2 separate regions of the Homo sapiens genome follow, and region 2 is linked to region 1. Evidence: promoter capture Hi-C in 16 types of primary human blood cells and fetal thymus (Javierre and others, 2016). All regions are on one chromosome and are shown on one strand. The core of a region is centred on a gene start or on the middle of the fragment in contact, and the rest is flanking DNA. Distances in the headings are between cores, read along the strand shown.

Region 1 (4,932 bases), core at 1,332-3,831:
TATTTGTATCACAAACATTTTTATCACACTTACTAAGTGCCAGGCAATGGGGAACCACAACGACTTTAAACAGGGAAGACCCAGGAGCTGAGTTACTCAGATGAGTAGCATCATTTTGAAATGTCCTTTCTAGTTTCCCCATTTTACAGGGGTGCAGACTGAGGCACTGAGAAAGAGTCATTGTCACAAGTTTATGCTGCTAGCAGGCTGGGCAGAACTTACCCCTACTCAGTGTCTGCTTTCATCAAGGGAAACTAAAGGGGGCTGCTGTTTACGGAGCTCCGAGGCTCCAGGGACATTCCACACATTTCCTATGTAACTCTCAAAACCCTCCTGGGAAAGTGTAATTATGCCCATTTTGCAGGTGGCCAGACGGTGGCCAGGGAGAAGTGATTGTTGAGGCTAAAAGGGCAGATGAATGTGGGAACGCAGGAGTGTGTGACTCTTGGAGTCCCTATTTCCCATTCCAGGAACCCCTCCAGCCCGCACAGGAGGCAATGAGGTGGTCTGGGCTGAAGCTACTTCCTCATGCCCCTCATCGCCCTCCAGACTTGCTGCCGTGTGGGACCCAGGATGATAAGGACGTAAATGCCACTCGCTGAGCCCAGCTGTGTGCAAGGCCCTGTTCCCAGAGCTTTGCAGGTCAGGACAGTTCCAATCACAATCTTACAACCAAGGAAACAGGGAGAACTGGCAGCAGAAGTCAAGCCCAGCAGCCAGCTCTGGAGCCTGTGCTCTTAACGGTTCCATCAATGCACCCACTGCAGATGGGGAAACTGAGTTCCAAGGTGGGACTGGCCCAGTGGCACAGAAGTGAGGGGTGACATCGGTTGAGCTTGGCAGGACTTATATCAATGACGCCTGCCTTAGAGTCCCCACTGCCTCCAGGGAGGAAGGAGGAGGCATCTCCTTGGGGAGTCAGGGGCAAAACACGTTTATTCCCAGTTTGACTTGAAAGCAGGCCTTGGTGGAGACAGAAATGTCTCCTGCCTCTCAGAATTCACAGACGGGCAGGGTTGGAGCAGGGAGGAGGTGGCATTGATTAAACATGGAGGTAGGACCTGGGTTGGGGCTATGGGGTGGGAAGATAGGGAGCACTTTGTCCAGTGGAGAGCGAAAGATGAGTTAATTAATTCATTCACTTGTTCATTTGTTACACTGGCATCTATGCCTGTGCTGGCCTAGGAGTGGGGCACATAGCTGGTTCGCCTGGAGAAACAACACTTCACTATGGGCCCCAGGGATCTCTGGATGGGCCAGAGGAACTGTAGGGGCTGGGGGAAGCTTCCTGCAGCTGCTTACCTTTCACCCTTAGAATCTGGAGAGGGCTTTGTAGACAGCAGGGACTGCACATGCAAAGGCCCAGAGGCAGGGAGCACAGGGGGTGATGAGGAGGGGATGGAAGGAATGAGTAGCTCTGTGTGAAGAGAGGACTGGGATGTGTGTACGGAAGGCCTTGGATGCCAAGTGAAGTGGTCTGGGCTGTGTCCCAGCAGGTTTTGGAGGGTGCAACTGGGAAAAGGCAGACGGAACATTCTGGGGTGGTGGAAATGTTCTATATTGTGATAGGAGTGTGGGCTGCATGACCGTAAAAAATGGTCAAAACTCAGCAAATGAACATTTAAGATTTGTGCATGTCACTGTATTTAAAGATATAAAGAAAAGAATCTGAATGCCATGCAGGGTGAAGTGTTTAGTGGTAGTATACTGATGTCTGCAACTTTCAAATGCATAAAAAATAAAAGATGGACTAACAGATGGATGCAAATATGACAAGAATGTAAATGGTGGGTATAGTTGGTGGGAACAACGTGACAACCATGTGTGTCCGCTGTACATTTCCTTCACCTTTGCTATAGGTATGAAAATTTCATGAGGAAATAGTTGGGAAAAACCTTGTTGTATCTCATACATAGTAAACACTCAATAAACAGCAGCTATTGTTATTACTTTGGGACTATTATTTCAGACCCCTAAGAAATGAGTGAGGAATATTTTTCAGATAAAAAAAATGCACATTCGTGCACCAGTCCCAAGTTTGAGGAGCTGGATTCATATTCGTCTCCTTTAGTCCTAAAATCAGCCCTGTGAGGCAGGTATTATACTCATTTGCCAGATGGAAAGAATGTGAGGCTCAGAGGAGGGAAGTGGCTGGCCCAAGGTCATACGGTGAGTTGGGGGTTGAGCAGGGTTTGAACCTGGGTCATCCTGATGCTGAGTCCAGCCTGGGCACCTCCTGTCTACCCAGATCATCTGGAATGGCTAGTGCCTGCCTTAGAGTTAGAAACTAGATGCATCTGGGGGTGATTCCAGTTCCCCAAGCTTGAGGCCTAGCTGGGGTCTCTGGGAATGTGCCCAGCCCAAGGGCTGATAAAACCCAGCTCATGTGACACCATCTGGGGCTGAGTGCAAGTCTTGGAATTAGCCACAAACCGCAAACCTTTATGGTTTTGGGGCTCAATGCCCAATTTGCAGAGCAAATCTGAATTCCGGTCTCTTGTAATTACACAGTGTTTCCCTCTCTGGGGTCTGGGCTCAGCCTCAGGCTGCTATATAAGACTGATCTGTGACCAGACTCAGCCAAAAGCAGAGGGGCTGGGGAACAGGACTTCTCAAGACTCAGCGGCAGGGACCTCCTAGGGGTAAGGAGGCGCACCTTGTCTACTCAGTGTCCGGCAGGGGAGGCACAGGCCTGGGAAGGTAATAAGGAGAGAGAGTCCCAGCCTGGAGATCCATCAGGATGGCCCCTCTCCAAGTTCAGGGGTCTTGTCTGTAGCATGGGCCTAGTCAGGAGAGCCTCTTGGGAATCAGCAAAAAGGCCTGGGTTATGCCAATTACATGCATGCGCAGAGCTGCACTCATCTTTCCCAGGGACGTTGGGTACCGAGGGCCTTTGCTACCTCCTGGAGACTCCTCAGCTGTTTGCTGATGCCAGAAATCTTCCATCGGTGCCCATCTTTTTAACTGAAAGGGGTGATTCCTTTTTGAACACAGCTCTCTGGAAAGTGAGGTTAGGATGAGGTGAGGAAGCCAGAAAAAAATTATTGCATATAGTAGTCCTTTATATTCTAGTGTAAATGAATGCCTCTAATATTCTTCTGGGAGCAGATAGGAGTAGGGAAAGAATTTGGGGGCGCTGTGAAGTCCAAGAGAAATGGGGACAGAAAAAAGAGGAGAGTGTGCCTAAACAAAGGTGGCTGAAACCAACAATTTCTTGGCTCAGATGAGAGGCCATGCCCTGTGCTGACTCTCTGAGGTTGGTGGATGTGTAGCCGGGGCTGATGGAGTGAGAGAAGTGGATGAGGGCACAAAAGGAGCAAAAGAAAGTTTCCCAGAGGCTATGCAGCTCGTTCCAAAATGCATGTTTCACCTCCCCAATCTCATAACATTCCTCACCCACTTCTTAGGGGTCTGAAATAACAGTCCCAAAGTAATAACAATAGCTGCTCTTTATTGAGTGTCTACTATGTATGAGATACAACTTGTTTGTGATTTGGGAGCAGAAGTTCAAAAAGGTAAAGTCCCTTTCCTAAGCATTAAGACCCAGATATCTCTGACCTAGAGCCATTAATATTAACCACGTGGTGTAGAACTGACTCCTCCAAAGAGATGGGAAGAGTGTTTGCTGGTGAGCTGGATGTGTGGAAGGGTGGCTAGATGAATGCATTGATGAGTAGATAAACTGATGGAAAGATGAATGGATGGATGGATGGATAGCTGGGTGGATGGATGGTTGGTTGGATAGATGGATGGGCAGGAGGATATATGGCTTGCCAGCTGTTTGGATGACAGATGGATGATAGATATATGGGAAGATGGATGGATGGTGGGATGGGTGGACAGATTAATAAATAGAGGGAGGAGAATGAGTTGATGAGTGGATGGATGGTTGGTTGGATGGATGGTTGGTTGGATGGATAGATATATGGCTTGCTGGGTGTTTCCATGACAGATGGGTAATAGATAGATGGAAAGATAGTAGGTTGAATGTATGGGTGAATAGGAGAATAAATACGAAGGGGAGAATGAGTAGATGAGTAGATGGGTGAGTGATGTAGAGGAATGAGTAGATGAGTAGATGGGTAGATGCTGGAGAGAGTTCCTTAGAACCTGCGAGCTCCCAGTTTGGTGTTTTTGTTGGAATCCCTATTACCCATCTCCCTGATGCTCAATTTGTCAATTCCATCTTGGGAGATAATTAGACATCCATTCTCTGAAACAGTGTGTTTAATGGGTCTGCTTTGTGTCACCAGATTCATTTCAATTTGAAAAACTCAAAAGGTAGTATCTGGAATTCTGGACCCTGCCTTAGTATGTGACCTTGGCTGGTTTCCCCTCTCTCTGGGTCCCAGGGTCCTGAGATGACTCTTGGCTGGGGCTGCCTAGTGCTACCTGCTGGCCAGGGTGGTGGCGCCCAGCCACATCTGCATCTGCACTTTCTCCTCCACAGGGAAGCAGTGCCAGCATGTGGATGGCCTGGTGTGTGGCTGCGCTGTCTGTGGTGGCTGTGTGTGGCACCAGCCACGAGACAAACACGGTCCTCAGGGTGACGAAAGATGTGTTGAGCAATGGTGAGTCCAGCCCCAAAGGGGTGAGGGTTGGCATGGGGTGAGCAGGGCAGCTCTGCCAACTCTGAAGTACCCAGGAACCTCCTCCTGCTAGCAGAGTTCACATCGGGAGGCTGGGTGAATTCTACTCTCTGGGCCTTAGTTTCTCCTTTTTCTTTTGACTACCATTTCCTGAGCACCTACTATGTGCCAAGCACCATACTGGTGACTTTATGCTCATTCTTTAGAGGCAATAGAGAACAATGATTAAGAGCCCTGGATCAGCCTTCGTGGGGTTCAAATCCTGACTGTGTGACCTTAAGTTCATGACTTGAGTTCCCTGAGCCTCAGTTTCTTTATCTGTAAAATGGGTGTAATTATAGTC
Region 2 (4,932 bases), core at 720-3,219, 290 kb before region 1:
GTAGAGATGGGGTTTCACCATGTTGGCCAGGCTGGTCTCGAACTCCTGGCCTCAAGTGAGCCACCTGTCCCGGCCTCCCAAAGTGCTGGGATTACAAGTGTGAGCCACCATACCTGGCCCATTTTATTTCTTTAAATATATCTATGGTTTTGATGTTAGGATTAGGTGGGCTCAAGGAATTTTTTTTACAAGCTGGAAGAAACTTGTCTAAGCTTATTTTAATGAATTTCAAACAATTATATCTTCTAAGACTTGCTACATTATCAAGCTTTCTACTTCATTTACTTTTCCAAGGTTGGATCTTTCCCATCTTGTTTTGTGTTCCTTCCTTTACTGACACCGTCTGTTTCCTAATTATTCTTAGTAGAGTTTGTCAATTGGGTTGGTTTTGCTCAGAGCCAGTATCAGTCATAAAAGTCCTGGGCAATGAAAACTCACCCTCAGCTTCCATTCTCTTGGTGGTGGCCAACCTACTTAGGGGACTCAGAAGGTGGGGAACCTAAGCCCTGGGAGGAATTAGGGCAGCTGCAGGATCAGAGGCTCAGCACTGCTGTTTTGTTTCTGGTAGCTAGTTACCAGAAACAGTAATGAAATCTCTTGCCCACACGTTTCTTTTTGTTTGTTTGTTTTGTTTTGAGACAGAGTCTCCAGTCTGTCGCCCAGGCTGGAGTGCAATGGCACGATCTCGGCTCACTGCAACCTCCGCCTCCCAGGTTCAAGTAATTTTCCTGCCTCAGCCTCCCAAGTAGCTGGGCTTACAGGCGTGCACCACCATGCCCAGCTAACTTTTGTATTTGTATTTGTATTTTTTTTTTTTTTTGAGATGGAGTCTTACTCTTGTTCCCCAAGCTAGAGTGCGGTGGCGCGATCTCGGCTCGCTGTAACCTCCACCTCCCAGGTTTAAGCGGTACTCCTGCCTCAGCCTCCTGAGTATGAGTAGCTGGAATTACAGGCACATGCCACCATGCCCTGCTAATTTTTGTATTTTTAGTAGAGACAGGGTTTCGCCATATTGGCCAGGCTGGTCTTGAACTCCTGACCTCAGGTGATCCACCCGCGTCGGCCTCCCAAAGTGTTGGGATTACACGCCTGGCCTAATTTTTGTATTCTTAGTAGAGATGGGGTTTCACCATCTTGGCCAGGCTGGTCTGGTGACCTCAGGTGACCTCAGTCTGCCCCAGACTCCCAAAGTGTTGGGATTACAGGTATGAGCCACCACACCCTGCATATTATTTGATTCTTGATGTAACCCTGTTGTGCTATGAGGGAAGTACTGTTATTCCAATTTTAAAATGAGGGAAATGGACTCAAAGCCACACAGTTGGTGAGTGAAGGCAAGTGCTTAACACTCCAGCCAGACCTAGCTGCTCGCTGCTTCAGCTTTTGTGTTTGGCTTATGCTGGGTTTTGGTGTGAGGTGTGAGGCCTGCACGAGGAAGCCCTGATGACATGGTGCAGGTTTCATGCCATTGCTTCCGGGGCATCTGTCGTGGTTGGTCTGTGTCTGCACCCATATGCAGTGTGTTGTGATGAGTGACCCGGTCTCCCTGCCAGGCACAGGCGATCAGTCTTTCATATTGCAGGTGCCTTGTTTCTTTGACTTGCTGATACCCTGGGGTCTTCATCATGTTCATCATGTTTCCTTATAAAGGACTTGACAGGCGATGGCGACGGGGAAGATGGGGATGGCTCTGACACCCCAGTCATGCCAAAGCTCTTCCGGGAAACCAGGACTCGTTCAGAAAGCCCAGCTGTAAGTAGCCACACCTCGAGCCAAAGCACTTGTGGCCAACACTCTACATAGCATACATAGCATGCTACATACATAGCATAGCTCCTTAGGGGAGCTTTTAAGAGAAAGTGATGAAAAAATGTTTTGAAACTAGAAAATATAAGCAAGGCTCTTGGACTATTGTTGGAGGGTTTTCTTTTTTCTTTTTTTTTTTCTGAGACGGAGTCTCACTGTGTTGCCCAGGCTGGCGTGCAATGGCGTGATCTTAGCTCACTGCAACAACCTCTGCCTCCTTGGTCCAAGTGATTCTCCTGCCACAGCCTCCCAAGTAGCTGGGACTACACGCACCTACCACCACACCCGGCCAGTTTTTGTATTTTCAGTAGAGATGAAGTTTTACCATGTTGGCCAGGCTGGTCTCGAACTCTTGACCTCAGGTGATCCACCCACCTTGGCCTCCTAAAGTGCTGGGATTTCAGGTGTGAGCCACTGCGCCCGGCTGGAAGGTTTTCTCTATGTGCCATTTCTTTCAGGTGGTTTTTAAGTTCTTTCTTGTAACACTCTTGGAGGTGCCTAGGGGTGATAGAGTTTGCAGGGTGGATGGCTCAGCTGCTAATGACCTAGGGAGTCCACCATTTCTGTGGGTGGATTTTGTGCCTCAGAGTTTTGAGGTATGGCAATGGGAAGGCAGTTATTGCTTATGGTCACCCAGCCCTTTAGAGACCAGACTGACAGTTACTATCCCAGGTGTGGGTTACAGTCTTCCCTTCCCAGGATATGGTCTGTATCATCCCCTTTGTGGAGATGAGAGAAGATTCCAGCAACTTAACTGAGGTTAAACATCAACTCTTCTATGCATAATTTGGACACAGGTTCTGCAACAACCAAATTCATGCCATTTTTGACAATGAACATGGAGCCTAAGGAATTCTATTCCATCTTGATGATCTGGTGCCTTCCTGAACCCAGTAATTGGCCTTATGCTTCTTTGACATAAAAGTTTATTTTAGAGTGAACACGAATTTTTCTTTCTTTCTTTCTTTCTTTTTTTTTCTTTTTTTTTGAGATGCAGTCTCACTGTGTTGCCCAGGCTGGAGTGCAGTGACGTGATCTCAGCACACTGCAACCTCTGCCTCCCTGGTCCAAGTGATTCTCCTGCCTCAGCCTCCTGAGTAGCTGTGACTACAGGCACCCACCACCATGCCTGGCTAATTTTTGCATTTTTAGTAGAGATGGGGTTTCACCATTTTATCCAGGATGATCCTGAATTTCTGATTGCAAGTGATCTGCCCGCCTTGGCCTCCCAAAGTGCTGGGATCACAGGCATGAGCGAGCCACTGCGCTTGGCCAGATTTTTATTTTTCAATCCCAATTGGCAGGTGCCATTTCAGCTGGCCATGTCTGTCTGCTGTGACAGGCAGAGCAGGACCTGCTGGGAATTGTCGGGCATCCTAGCTGGCCACCCTACCACCTCTATTCCAAGAACTGGGGAATTCTGGCTGGACTCAGTCCAGAGTCCCACCTCATCACCTGTTCACTTCCAGTTGTCCTGAAGCTGGCTACCAGGTCTCCTTGGCCACCTGAAGGCCTAATCCTTCTGGCCCCGCCAGACCCCAGGCCTCCAGTCACCTAAGGCCCAGTGAGTGTCCTCTCTTGCTTCTAGGTCCGAACTCGAAATAACAACAGTGTCTCCAGCCGGGAGAGGCACAGGCCTTCCCCACGTTCCACCCGAGGCCGGCAGGGCCGCAACCATGTGGACGAGTCCCCCGTGGAGTTCCCGGCTACCAGGGTTGGTTCCCCAGATGCCCAGACCCCTGCCCGCAGTCTCTAACTGGGAGATATGCCTCACTCACTGCACTACTGGTTGTGGCTGGTAGATAATCTGTGTCCTTTTTTCACACTGCTTTTCAGGTTCTTGCTTTTTCTTTTCTCTCCTGGGTAAGCTTCCCGTAAGCCTGTTGGCTTCTCTCCTGGTCTGATCTCAGATGACACTCTGTTGGGAATGGAAGCTTTCCCTGTTGACTTGGTTCTTGCTCTAACTTGGAAACAAGGTAGAAAACACTGACATCCAGAACTGTCTTCTCCCTCATGTCTTCTTCACCTGTCTTGAGGCAACCCTAGCGGGTATGGCAACATTTCACTCTCTGAGAGTCCCTCGTCATTACCCATCATTTGTGCCTTTGTCATCTTTCTGTCTCTGGGACAGTTACAATGACTTTCTCCCCCCTTAAGGGATACGTGTTCCTGGAAAAGTTTCTTCAGCGGTCTCTGTTCTCTTTAACTTCAGTCTTTCCTCTTTCTTTTTGCCTAGGAGCCATATGGGGGTGCCGTTGGTCTCTGGTCACCGACATCCTTTGCTCTGGCCCAAACTATGTGTCCTTCTGTCCACAGTCCCTGAGACGGCGGGCAACAGCATCGGCAGGAACGCCATGGCCGTCCCCTCCCAGCTCTTACCTTACCATCGACCTCACAGACGACACAGAGGACACACATGGGACGCCCCAGAGCAGCAGTACCCCCTACGCCCGCCTAGCCCAGGACAGCCAGCAGGGGGGCATGGAGTCCCCGCAGGTGGAGGCAGACAGTGGAGATGGAGACAGTTCAGAGTATCAGGTATGGCCGAGAGGGGCTCCTGCCCAGGGTGACTGAGGACCCTGAACACGGGGAAAAACCAGTTACCTGCTACTGTTGGTAACAGAGCGACAACAGTTGTTAGAAGTTTCGTAATTGTAATAATTGACATGTTTGAATTCTAAGTATCTTCCATATGCACCACGGACCTTTCTTTACCTTAATCCTCTCCCAGACATAAGTCAAATGCCAGTATTTACCACGTGAATACTGTGGTTTTTCCCAACATGACATTTATGTAAGGACTGCAACTGCGTACGTTATACATTTCATGTACGCCCGTGTGAAGAGACCACCAAACAGGCTTTGTGTGAGCAATAAAGCTGTTTATTTCACCTGAGTGCAGGTGGGCTGAGTCCAAAAGAGAGTCAGCGAAGGGAGATAGGGGTGGGGCCATTTTCTAAGATTTGGGTAGGTAAAGGAAAATTACAGTCAAAGGGGGTTTGTTCTCTGGCGGGCAGGAGTGGGGGTCTCAAGGTGCTCAGTGGGGGAGTTTTTTGAGCCACGAGGAGCCAGGAAAAGGGATTTCACAAGGTAATGTCATCACTTAAGGCAAGGACCGGCCATTTA

Evidence for each region. Contacts are between HindIII fragments. The CHiCAGO score rates a contact against its expected background, and 5 or more counts as called.
Region 2: a contact is called between a fragment that was not itself captured here and the fragment with the promoter of BPIFB4 in region 1, in 7 of 17 cell types (megakaryocytes, non-activated CD4 T cells, endothelial precursors and 4 more). The highest score is 8.0, in megakaryocytes.

What each region holds. Positions count from the first base shown.
Region 1 is chr20:33,077,062-33,081,993 of GRCh38, forward strand. BPIFB4 (BPI fold containing family B member 4) reads left to right here and starts at 2,582. Exons shown (of 18, transcript NM_182519.3): 1 at 2,582-2,642; 2 at 3,408-3,515; 3 at 4,451-4,571. The coding sequence starts at 4,466. The HindIII fragment of the contact is 19,838 bases long and covers 2,321-4,932 here.
Region 2 is chr20:32,783,108-32,788,039 of GRCh38, forward strand. It overlaps DNMT3B (DNA methyltransferase 3 beta), which reads left to right. Exons shown (of 23, transcript NM_006892.4): 4 at 1,651-1,752; 5 at 3,395-3,520; 6 at 4,123-4,344. Among named protein-coding and RNA genes, the nearest start is that of DNMT3B, 23 kb to the left of the region's middle. RefSeq lists enhancers at 3,866-4,537, 4,538-4,932. The HindIII fragment of the contact is 3,406 bases long and covers 267-3,672 here.